2 separate regions of the Homo sapiens genome follow, and region 2 is linked to region 1. The links are contacts of gene promoters, found by promoter capture Hi-C in human tissues and cell types (Jung and others, 2019). All regions are on one chromosome and are shown on one strand. The core of a region is centred on a gene start or on the middle of the fragment in contact, and the rest is flanking DNA. Distances in the headings are between cores, read along the strand shown. Region 1 holds the start of AGXT (alanine--glyoxylate aminotransferase). Region 2 overlaps LINC01237 (long intergenic non-protein coding RNA 1237).

What was found. The method cuts DNA at HindIII sites, captures the fragments that hold promoters and counts their contacts. A contact is called where the count stands out against the background at its distance.
Region 2: a contact is called between a fragment that was not itself captured here and the fragment with the promoter of AGXT in region 1, in 1 of the 25 tissues and cell types used here (lymphoblastoid cells).

What each region holds. Positions count from the first base shown.
Region 1 is chr2:240,864,870-240,870,272 of GRCh38, forward strand. It overlaps AGXT (alanine--glyoxylate aminotransferase), which reads left to right and starts at 3,955. Exons shown (of 11, transcript NM_000030.3): 1 at 3,955-4,161; 2 at 4,301-4,493. The coding sequence starts at 3,997. RefSeq lists an enhancer at 3,474-3,974. The HindIII fragment of the contact is 24,692 bases long and covers 1-5,403 here.
Region 2 is chr2:241,882,663-241,888,244 of GRCh38, forward strand. The region is part of intron 2 of LINC01237 (long intergenic non-protein coding RNA 1237); the gene reads left to right. Among named protein-coding and RNA genes, the nearest start is that of LINC01237, 4.1 kb to the left of the region's middle. The HindIII fragment of the contact is 9,878 bases long and covers 1-5,582 here.

The sequences.
Region 1 (5,403 bases), core at 2,705-5,204:
TTTTTTTTTTTTTTTTTGAGACAGAGTTTTGCTCTTGTCACCCAGGCTATAGTGCAATGGTGCGATCTCGGCTCACTGCAACCGCCATCTCCCGGGTTCAAGTGATTCTCCCGCCTCAACCTCCTGAGTAGCTGGGATTACAGGCATGCACCACCATGCCCGGCTATTTTTTTTTTTTTTTTTTTTTTTTTGTATTTTTAGTAGAGACAGGGTTTCACCATGTTGGCCAGGCTGTTCTCACACTTCTGACCTCAGGTGATCCGCCCGTCTCAGCCTCCCAAAGTGCTGGAATTACAGGCATGAGCCACCACACCCAGCCAATTTACTGTCTCTTTATCCAATCCCCATTTCTCAAGACCCACATACAATTATTCAGCTTGCACTAGATTTTTATTTGCAGGGTGGTTTTTCTAATTATACTTGGAGCAACTTTTGTAACAGTCCTTGAATTAGAACAATGAGACTCCTTTTTTCTTTCTTTCATGTTTTTCTCTTTATCTCTCATATAAAAACTTCCCAATCCTCTTGGTTTGACAATATCATCTTCAGCATCTCACATGCTATTGTGAGAGGAGAAAATACTCTGTGTGGCTGGCTTTGCCGTCCACAACCTGCTACTCCAAGCCATGTAGATTCTTCTTCGTAAGCACACCCTGTCTCCAATCAAACTGTACTGTTGGGATTTCATTATTCTTCTCACCACTCCTTCCCACCCCGACCATTTCCTTCTGTGCTGGTAAATTGGAAACCACCTCCCTCTTCGTGCTATCATATTACTTCCCCCACCATCCACACTTACAATATCACTGAAACTTCCTTAACTTGTAATGTTATTTTGGGAGGTACACCTTGTTATAATGACACTCATGCAGCTAACTTTGACTCATTTGAGGCCTTCGCCTCCTACAATCAAAACTCTGACTCTGGCCAGGTGCGCTGGCTCACACCTGTAATCCTAACACTTTGGGAGGTAGAGGTGGGTGGATCACCTGAGGTCAGGAGTTCGAGACCAGTCTGACCAACATGGTGAAACCCTGTCTCTACTAAAAATACAAAAATTAGCAGGGCGTGGTGGCAGGTGCCTGTAATCCCAGCTACTCAGGAGGCTGAGGCAGGAGAATCGCTTGAACCCAGGAGCAGAGGTTGCAGTGAGCCAAGGTCACACCACTTCACTCCAGCCTGGGCAACTGAGTGAGACTCCATCTCAAAAAAAAAAAAAAAAAAAATCTGACTCTATCTCATCACTGCCAATTTATAAGCCGTTAAACTGGACCAGTATAGTGGGGCTCCCAGTATACAGCACCCCTGCACTCCTAATACCTTCATGTATGTTACTATAATGATGCAACCAGTGCAGGAAATAACCACCGTGCCACCTGGTTTACATCCTATGCCATGCACTGGCACCCGCCTGCTTTTAAACCTCCTCCATCAGTACATAAACATAGTCTTTCCCCCATATGAGTCCTCTTAAAACTGTCAAAAGGCCCATTTCCTTTTTTCCCAACATTTTAATTAAAATAATCATCCTGCCCCTCCTGGGCTCTTATGGCTTAGCAGCCCCACTAAAAACTATTTAAACCCTTTTCAAGCTTTGGCCCTATCCCACCTTGATCATTCTCTTCACTATGGTGATTGTAGCCTGGGAACAATAGCTCCCACCCAAATCACTGTCTTAAACATCACTTCTAATTCAGAATTCCCTTCTAGAAGGAAAAGGGCCCTGGGACTTACTGTGGCCGGAGTTGTGGGAACTATCACAACTCTTACCCCTTGGGGAGGTTTTACTTACCAGGAAATCACAAGTAAGAGAACCTACCGCCTCCCTTGAAATAGCAAAAGCTGGCACCCATCTATCAGCTCTACAAGTCATTAGACTCACAAGCAGGATTTTGGTGTCTGGTAACAGGTGAGTTCTGGATTACCTCCTAGCTGAACAAGGAGGGGTCTGTGCTGTCATCAACAGGACCCGTTGCACCTACATTTATGTGTCTGGAGAAGTGGAAACCGATGCCCAAGAAATCATCAAACAAGCCAAATGGCTACACACACTTTCCCAAAGCAACCAAGACTGGGCCAAAACTTTTACTGATTGGTTTTCAAAAAATCACTTGGCTTCCCCCATTCCTTAGACCTTTATCTTCTGTCATTTTTCTTTTAATATTTGGTCCCTGCCTTTTTAATGCTCTGATTGCTTTTCTATGTTCTACATGAGAACAATTCCACCTGCAGAAGGCTATGCATTCCCAACACTGGCCTGCAACTGCAGCTCGATTTACATGGGGCTTCTTGATGGAAATACCGGCCTGCAACTGCAGCTCCCATTTACGTGGGGCTTCTTGATGGAATCCCATCACGTGCCTCCGTGCACAAGTTTTCATGACCCTTTATTCCCTTCATGACCGAGAGCAAGAAAGGGAAAAACGTGACCTACCCCCCTGAACTCCCTTTCAGCAGCAAGTAGTCAGGCGCACTGGACACCCCTCTTCACTGTGCCGTTTCCCCTTTCTTGAGACCCCAACAGGAAGCAGGTGGACATGAGCATGGCAGAAAAGGAAGGGTCAAAGATTTCACCAAGATATTTGTCAGAGGGAAAATGAGGACAGCAAAGATCACCTGGAGACCATCAAGCAGGCCCCAGGTGGGGTGGGTGGAGGGGAGCCTCTTTATTTGAGAAATGTAGAATGAATTAGACTTCCCTATTATCTAAAGTTGGCACCTGGTTCCAGGCCTCTTTTCAACCTAAAACTTATACATAACTAGAATTTCTATACATCTCTGGAATGCAGCATGCTGAAACTCACTGTGCAACCCCTGCCTTGTGTGTGTCTGTATACCATGCAGGTTTGCTTGCTAAATTGAGCCTGTAAACCAAAAAGTACCTCAAACAGGTCTCAATTAATTTAGAAAGTTTTTGTTGCCAAGGCTAAGGATGCACCCGTGGTACAGCCTCAGGAGGGAGGACATCCTTGCCAAGCTCAAGGGTGCACCCCTGACCACAAGGGCCCAAGGTGGTCGGGGCACAGCTTGCTTTTATACATTTTAGGGAGATATGAGGCATCAATCAATACATGGGAGATTTACATTGGTTCCATCTGGAAGGGCGGGACAACTTGAATTGGGGGGCTTCCAGGTCATAGGTAGATTTAAACATATTTTGATTGGCAACTGACTGAAGAATTATTATCAGCAGAAAGGAGTGTCTGGGTTATGAAATAGGGGTTGCAGGGAGCAGATGATGCCTTCAGGTAGCGGGATTTAGAGAGAAAATAGATGGTAAATGCTTCCTATCAGACTTAAGGTCTATGTCGATGTTAATGCTGGGGGTTATGATGTGGCATGGCCTGAACGTCTTCCGGGTTAAAGTTTAGAGCACCCTGGCGGACAGGGAACCCCATTCAGATGGTTGCTGGGGGGCCTTCGAATTTTATTTTTGGTTTACAAGCCTTCCCATCAGCTGCGCCAGGGTCAGCAAACCACAGTCCATGGGCCCAATCTGGCCTGCCACCTGCTTTTTGTAAATAAAGTTTTATAGGAACACGCCCACACCTCTGGCAGCTGCTTTGCAAGCACGCAGCAGGGTTGAGTTGTTGCAACATAGACCACAGGGCCTGCCAAGCCTCAATTATCTGTGCTCCGACCCTTTAAGAAACACTTCTCTCACCCCTGAGCTAAGCAGAATAAGAGGGGCTGGACGTGCAGGACTCAGAGTGGGAGCGAGGAGGGCTGGGGTGAGGACAGCTTTGTCACACTCTGTTTTTCTGTCACTCAGCCCTGGGGGCTCCCTCTGCCTGAGGGCTTCGTCCCCTGCTGCCTGGCCGTGACCCGCAGCACAAGCACAGATAAGCCTCAGGGAACAAAAGGCAGGGCTGCCACGGAAGCCCATCCACCAATCCTCACCTCTCACCTCTGTGTCCGCCCTGCTGGGAAATATTCCAGGCTTTGGCCAAGGCCAGTGCAGCCCCAGGTTCCCGAGCGGCAGGTTGGGTGCGGACCATGGCCTCTCACAAGCTGCTGGTGACCCCCCCCAAGGCCCTGCTCAAGCCCCTCTCCATCCCCAACCAGCTCCTGCTGGGGCCTGGTCCTTCCAACCTGCCTCCTCGCATCATGGCAGCCGGGGGGCTGCAGATGATCGGGTCCATGAGCAAGGATATGTACCAGGTAGGAGTGGGGGTCACTCGGGGGGCCTGGGTCTCACCCATGTTCCCACCCACAGATCGTGGACGAGGGAAGGGGGTCACTGCCTCCTCACTTGGGGAGGCGGGGAGCCTGGGTCTCACCCTATACCACCCGCATGCAGATCATGGACGAGATCAAGGAAGGCATCCAGTACGTGTTCCAGACCAGGAACCCACTCACACTGGTCATCTCTGGCTCGGGACACTGTGCCCTGGAGGCCGCCCTGGTCAATGTGCTGGAGCCTGGGGACTCCTTCCTGGTTGGGGCCAATGGCATTTGGGGGCAGCGAGCCGTGGACATCGGGGAGCGCATAGGTAAGGGAGAGGCCCAGGTGGGGATGGCCCTGGATCCATCCTTCAAGGCCTCCCTGGCCTCCCTCTGTTTGAAGCTGGCAGCCCCCGTTCCTGGGTGAGCGCTTACCCACCTTGTGGCCCTGTGCGCACGAACCTCCTGCCAGCCCACTGCCTCCTCCAGGCGGTGTCGGGCACTCATGAGGCCTGACTCTGATAGGGCTGGGAGCAGCACAGGTGCCCCGATCCCCCCAGTCTCCTTGAGCTGTTTCTGGAGCATGTGCAGGACGGAACTACAGGGAAGCCTCTGGTCCCAGCACACACTCCTGAGAGCCCCGGCCGCTGTCCAGGGCCCCAGGCACCAGCTCTGCTTTGTGACAGGGTGGGGTTTCAGAAGCTGAAGCCTCCCCTCAAATCTCAGCAGCCTTCCTTCTGGAATCTTGATGTGATACACAAAATATGGAGGTATGGGCAGAGTATTCGCCTCCGGAGTACACTTTTCTGGGAGAGACACAGGAGCAGGAGTGTGCCCTGGGTTTAATGATTGATTGTGGCATTGAGGGACATCAGCTTGGTGAGCTCCACAATGGCCATGCTGGTTAATACGCGACCGCAACAGCCAAGAGGGTCCCAACCCCAAGTCCACAAACTTTTCAAGGGGACCCAGGGTCGGCAGAGGCCAGGACCCCAAGTGGACATCAGGGCACGCAGGCTCAGATGCCTGTGGTATATGGCTTCCCTTTTCCCCATTCTGTCCCCTTGGCCGCAGGTTCTTCCCCTCCCACAACCTGGCCCTGAACAGCACACAGGATAGGGCAGAGACAGGGAGGGGGTGAGGGCCTGATTCCTGGAGTCCCCAGCTCCAACAGAGGTCAAGGCTGCTGCCTCACTCACCCCTCATCCTTCAGTCTGTCATCCATCACACCTGTGGTGT
Region 2 (5,582 bases), core at 2,153-4,652, 1.0 Mb after region 1:
ATTGATCACTGTGTACCTTCTTTGTTGAAATGTCGTCAGTATTTAAAGTCACAAATCTTCCTCTAAGACTATGCTACAATTTTTGTGTAATATTTTGATGGATATTTGAAATAAGTGCTAATTTTCTTTGGATTTCTTCTTTGACCCATGCTTTATTTAGAAGAATCTCTTTATGTGTGTATTTATTTTTTAAACCCTCTATTCTGAGAAGCATATTTAGAAGAGTATTGCCCACTTTCCAAATATGTGGAGAGTCTAAAAGGAATCTTGCTATTACTGATTTAATTCCATTTTGATCAAGGAACAAACTGCAGGATCTCACTTTTTAAAATTACAGAGACTTATTCTTACTGTTTAACATAAGCCCTATCTTTGTAAATGCTCCGTATACACTCAAAAATTACTTGTGTTCTGCAGCTGTGGGGTGGGATGCTCGCCAAGAGTTAATGAGGTGCAGCTGGTTGACAGTGCTCTTTAAACCGGCGAATCCTTCCTGTCCCACCCGCTGTGCTTGCAGTCCCGAGAGAGCTGTTACATCTCCAACTAGGACAGTGAATTTCTCTATTCTTTCAGTTCCGTCCGTTTTTACTTCGTGTTTTTTGAAACTGTTATTATCTTTTTAGGCATTTAGGATTTTTCTGTGATCCTGACAGTGGCTGACCATGGTGTCATCATGGAATGTCCCTCTTTATCTTCAGGGGTGCTACCTGGTCTAATGTGAGTGTTCCAGGGCTATTTTCTTATGCACAGAATTGGCACTGTGTATCTTTTCCTTTTTCTATTCTTTTTTCTTTTTTTTTTCTTTTTCAGACAGAGTCTTGCTCCATTGCCCAAGCTGGAGTGCAGTGGCGCGATCTTGGCTCGCTGCAAGCTCCACCTCTCGGGTTCACGCCATTCTCCTGCCTTAGCCTCCCGAGTAGCTGGGACCACAGGCACCCGCCACCACGCCTGGCTAATTTTTTTGTATTTTTTTTAGTAGAGACGGGGTTTCACCGTGTTAGCCAGGATGGTCTTTATATCCTGACGTTGTGATCCTGCCCACCTTGGCCTCCCAAAGTGCTGGGATTACAGGCATGAGCCACCGTGCCTGGCCACTTTTTTCCTTTTTTTTTTTTTTTTTGAGACAGGGTCTCACTCTGTTGCCCGGGCTGGAGTGCAGTGGTGCCATCTTGGCTCACCACAGCCTCGACCTCCTGGGCTCAAGTGATCCTTCCACCTCAGCCTCCAGAGTAGCTGAGACCACAGGTGTGCACCACCACACCAGGCTAATTTTTTTTTTGTATTTTTCAAACTCCTTTTTTTTTTTTTTGAGATGGAGTTTCACTCTTGTTGCCCAGGCTGGAGTGCAGTGGCGCGATCTTGGCTCGCTGCAACCTCTGCCTCCTGGGTTCAGGCAATTCTCCTGCCTCAGCCTCTCCAGTAGCTGGGATTACAGGCACAAACCACCATGCCTGGCTAATTTTTTTCGTATTTTTAGTAGAGACAGGGTTTCACCGTGTTGGCCAGGCTGGTCTGGAACTCTTGACCTCAGGTGATCTGCCTGCCTCAGCCTCCCAAAGTGCTTGGATTACAGGTCAAACTCTAAGACTCAAGTGATCCTCACTCTTGTGCCTACCACAATGCTGGGACCACTCCTGGACCACTGTGGATCTTTTTCTATCCTTTAGACACCCAACCTGTCTTTGTATCTTACGTGGGTGTCTGTAGATGGAGTTGGGTCTTGGTGACAATCCCTGCTTTGCACATGGAGTTTCTCCATTTGCAATTCCAGTAATGATTGATGAGGTTGCTGTAGATCCCCCATCTTGCTACTTGTTTTCTAAGTGTCTTATCTTGTCATTTGTTTTTTATTTGTCATTTTTTTGTTCCTTTGTTCCTCCATTCCTGCCTTTTTTGGGTTAATTGAAATTTTTTAGTACTTCGTTTTACACCTCTGTTGGTCTTTTAGCTGTGCCTCTTGGTATTACCATTTTTAGTAGTTACCCTAAAGACAACAAAATGAATCCTTAATTTATCAGCCTATTCACCTCACACAAAATGTGGGAAACTTGTAACGGTGTAATTCCTCTAACCCTGTTCTTCCTGTTACAGTTGCCATATGTTTAACCTCTACCTACATTACAAACTCCGTAACACAATGCTACTTTTGCTTTAGACAATCTTTTGAATAAATTAAAGTTAACTTTTTAAGAAATTAACTGTCAGTTGGGTGTGGTGGCTCATGTTTGTGATGCCCAAATTTTAGGAGGCAGAGGCAGGAGGATTGCTTGAACTTAGGAGTTCGAGACTGCTTTCGGAAACACAGTGATACCTCGTCTATTAAAAAGAAAGCAAACTAGCCGAGCATGGTGGTGTGCACCTGTAGTTTCAGCTGCTCGGGAGGCTGAGGCAGGGGGATCCCTGGAGCCCAGGAGGTTGAGGCCGCTGTGAGCCATGGTCACTTTCCTCCCCATCTCCCCTGTCCGGCATCCACACAGCTCCTTCTCTGTTGTCCCAGGCCAACCCCAGCCCTGGTGCTATGCCCTCCTCTCACTGCGCCCTTGTTTCCCCGAGCTCTGCCTCCTATGGTGGCAGAGTGGGAGGGGGAGGGTGGGAAGCATGGCTCACAGTTGGCTCCATCACAGTGGCCCTGTATTTGTCCAGTTTCACAGCCATTTGCTGGAGGAACGCAGGTCCAGCACTGGCTACCCTGTCACGGCAGGGGTGACCTCTTACCAGCCTAGCAGCCCAGAGGCGCCCCAGGTGGGGAGGTGGCAGGTGGACACCGGGTCCCGTGTGTTGTGGCAGTGAAGCCTGCAGCCCACCAGAGCTCCAACAGCAGAGAAACAGGCTGTGAGTGTAAGCGTGGAATTGCTGTGAGCCATGGCGCCAGCAGCATGTGCTGCAGAGACAGCTAATCAATTAGCCCCTCCGTGCTGGGTGCTGTGTGTGCACCATTAAAGAGCTCACGGGGAGAGAAATGCAGACTCCTCTGGGGGCCCCAGGGTGGATTGCACCACTCAGCATGTTCTATTGAGTGCCTTTCCCTGCAGTGCGTGCTTTCTGAGGCTGTAATTTTGAGTGTGTCTTTCAAGGCTGCAGCCCTTAAGCAGTACAGCCTGGGTGTTCAGCTGGATAATCCTGTAAGTGAAGTTTGAGTGGTTTAACTGCCTACAGCAGGTGGGAGCTCGGGTGGTGGGGAGCATCTGGGGTTTCGAGGAGTCTGAGCCTCTGTGCAGGGCTGCAGGCTGTGGACGGGTTACGCGGGTGCTGGTCTTTAACGAGAGGACCTTCAGAGAGATGCAACAAAACCCCATGTGAGGCAGAAATGAAGCCTCCGAGTTGTATTGGAAGAGCTGCTGTCCGTGCAGCCACCACCCCCCTAAATACTCTGTGAGGGTCCTGGCTCCAGTCCATCTGTCTATCATCTTGGGAGCAGCCCATGCCAGCCACGTTGTCCTCCAGGCTTCTCTGCACAGACCTGGCTGCTGCGGGGTGCAGGGCATGTTGTTTGCACGTGTGCACTCCACCTCTCTTTCACATGCGCGTTCTCTGTAACACTCAGGACAACCCCGTGAACTAGAAGTCAGGTCCCTTGTTGAACTGGAGTTGGCCTGAGAAAGATCTTGGAGGATTAAGGCAGAGCTTTGCTCTGGGTCTGCCTCCAGGAAGGTGCCTGAGTCTCCACAGGGGCTGTGCCACAGAAGCCCCCCACAGCTTTTGGAACCCCAGAGCCCTTCACTGCACATTCGCCCTGTAGCCTCAGTCTCCAGGGACCTGGGAAAGCCCCAGCGTCAGCTTTTATGTTCTTCTGCATCACCGTGTCCTCTGCCTCGCTATGAATGAGTTTGTCAGGCCTCCTCCTTGGGGAGTGCGGTGGGGGCAGGTGGCAGACCTCGGGGCCAACAGAGAGTCATTAAGTAATCTCATAGTGAACGTGGCCTGGAGTCTTGTTTTTCAGATGGAAAAGGGAAAATTGGGCAAAGTTTGTAGGAGAAAAATACCAAGTTTTGTGGTGGTTGTGTTGATGGAGGGGGTTGAGCTGAATCTGAGAAGCAAGTACATTTGAGGCTTGGCTGCCACACTCACGGACACTGCAGAGAATGAGGAAAAATGGCTGGTTGTGTTTTCTTTCCACTGCACAAAAGAATAATTGCTTTTGTTTACAGATTTTCTGAAATGTCCTTCCAATTCCTTTGCCCCTGAATTATGAGCTGTGCCAGCTTGCGTGCAACAAATGGGTCTTATTGAGCACAAATACATGGGTGCAGAGCGTCTTTCGAAGAGGAGGCATCAGGGAGCCTCCTCCGGTCTCCACAGCCCCTGACAGGAGGCTGCTTCTCGGGATCCAGACCTGCCTGGGCTGCTTCAGTGGCCTCCCTGCCCTTCCCGGTGCGGCAGATCTGTGCCCACAGCAACGCATCCCCCGCACCTGCACCACCGCTCTTCCTGAGGCCCAGTGTTGATCTCTTTGTGGCCCCAGTGAGGACATTTTTGAGGCTTCATGATCTCTGTAGGATGCTGTCCAGGCCCATGCACACAGCAGGTGCATCCGTGAGGCACACCTCATATCTTAGCACTGCTGTGCTGTGATGCAAGTCCTCAGGGAGCTCGGCTCCACACTGTCACTCAGGGATCCAGCAGCCCCTTCCACCTGTGGCGCTGCCGTCCTCTGGTTTGGCGTCCTCTCCGTTCAGTACACGGCCGGGGAGGAAAGTGAGGAGGCTGTTGCGAGGGTCTTATGAGCCAGGGCCAGGAGTGGACTGCATCACCCCTGCCCAAGTTTCTTGGCTAGAACTAGCTGTTTGGCCAAGGCAAACCCCTGAAGTGAAGGATGCAGGCAGGGCCCACCTCTCTCTCTCTCTCTCTCTCTGCCATTTGCCCCTCACCCCCACCCACCAGACCACCCGCGCCCCCCAAGGAGGCTGCCTCAATGCCCTTCAGTAACCCACTTCTGTTGTGCAAATTCCTCTCCAACATTTCCTCTTCAGAGCGACTGCCCGAGAAAACTGGATAATCGCGCCTTTCCCTGTGTTTCTGTGGTTCTTTTATAATCCTGGTTTTAAAATCTAAAATAGTGCATGCTGGTATTTGCTTTTTAGGGTTGTAGAAGAAGGTTAACAAGGTACCACAAACCGGATGGCTCAAAACAGCGGATACTGTCTCACGGTTCTGGAGACCTGAAGTCTGAAACAAAGTGGTGATGGGGTCGGTTCCCTCCGGAGGCTCTGAGGGGGATGCAGTGGCTCTGAGGGGGCTGTGGGGGCTCTGAGGGGAGACTGGGGGTGGCTCTGAGGGGGATGCGTTTCCTGCCTCTCTCCGCCATGCTGGGGCTCGCTGCATCTTCGTGCTCCTCTGCTTGTGGATGCGTCACTCTGGCTCCGTTCTTCTTCACGCGGCATCCGTCTCCCTGTGTTCTCTGCTTTATAACGGCACCTGTCATTGGATGCAGGGACCGCTCTAATCCACCATGATTCTATCTGGAGAACCTAAACTTAATTACATCAGTAAAGACCCTTTCTCCATGAGGTCCCACTCGCAGGTTCTCGGGGGACATGTCTTTTGGGGCCACCATTCCCCCAGCTCCGATGCTCCTTTAAGCT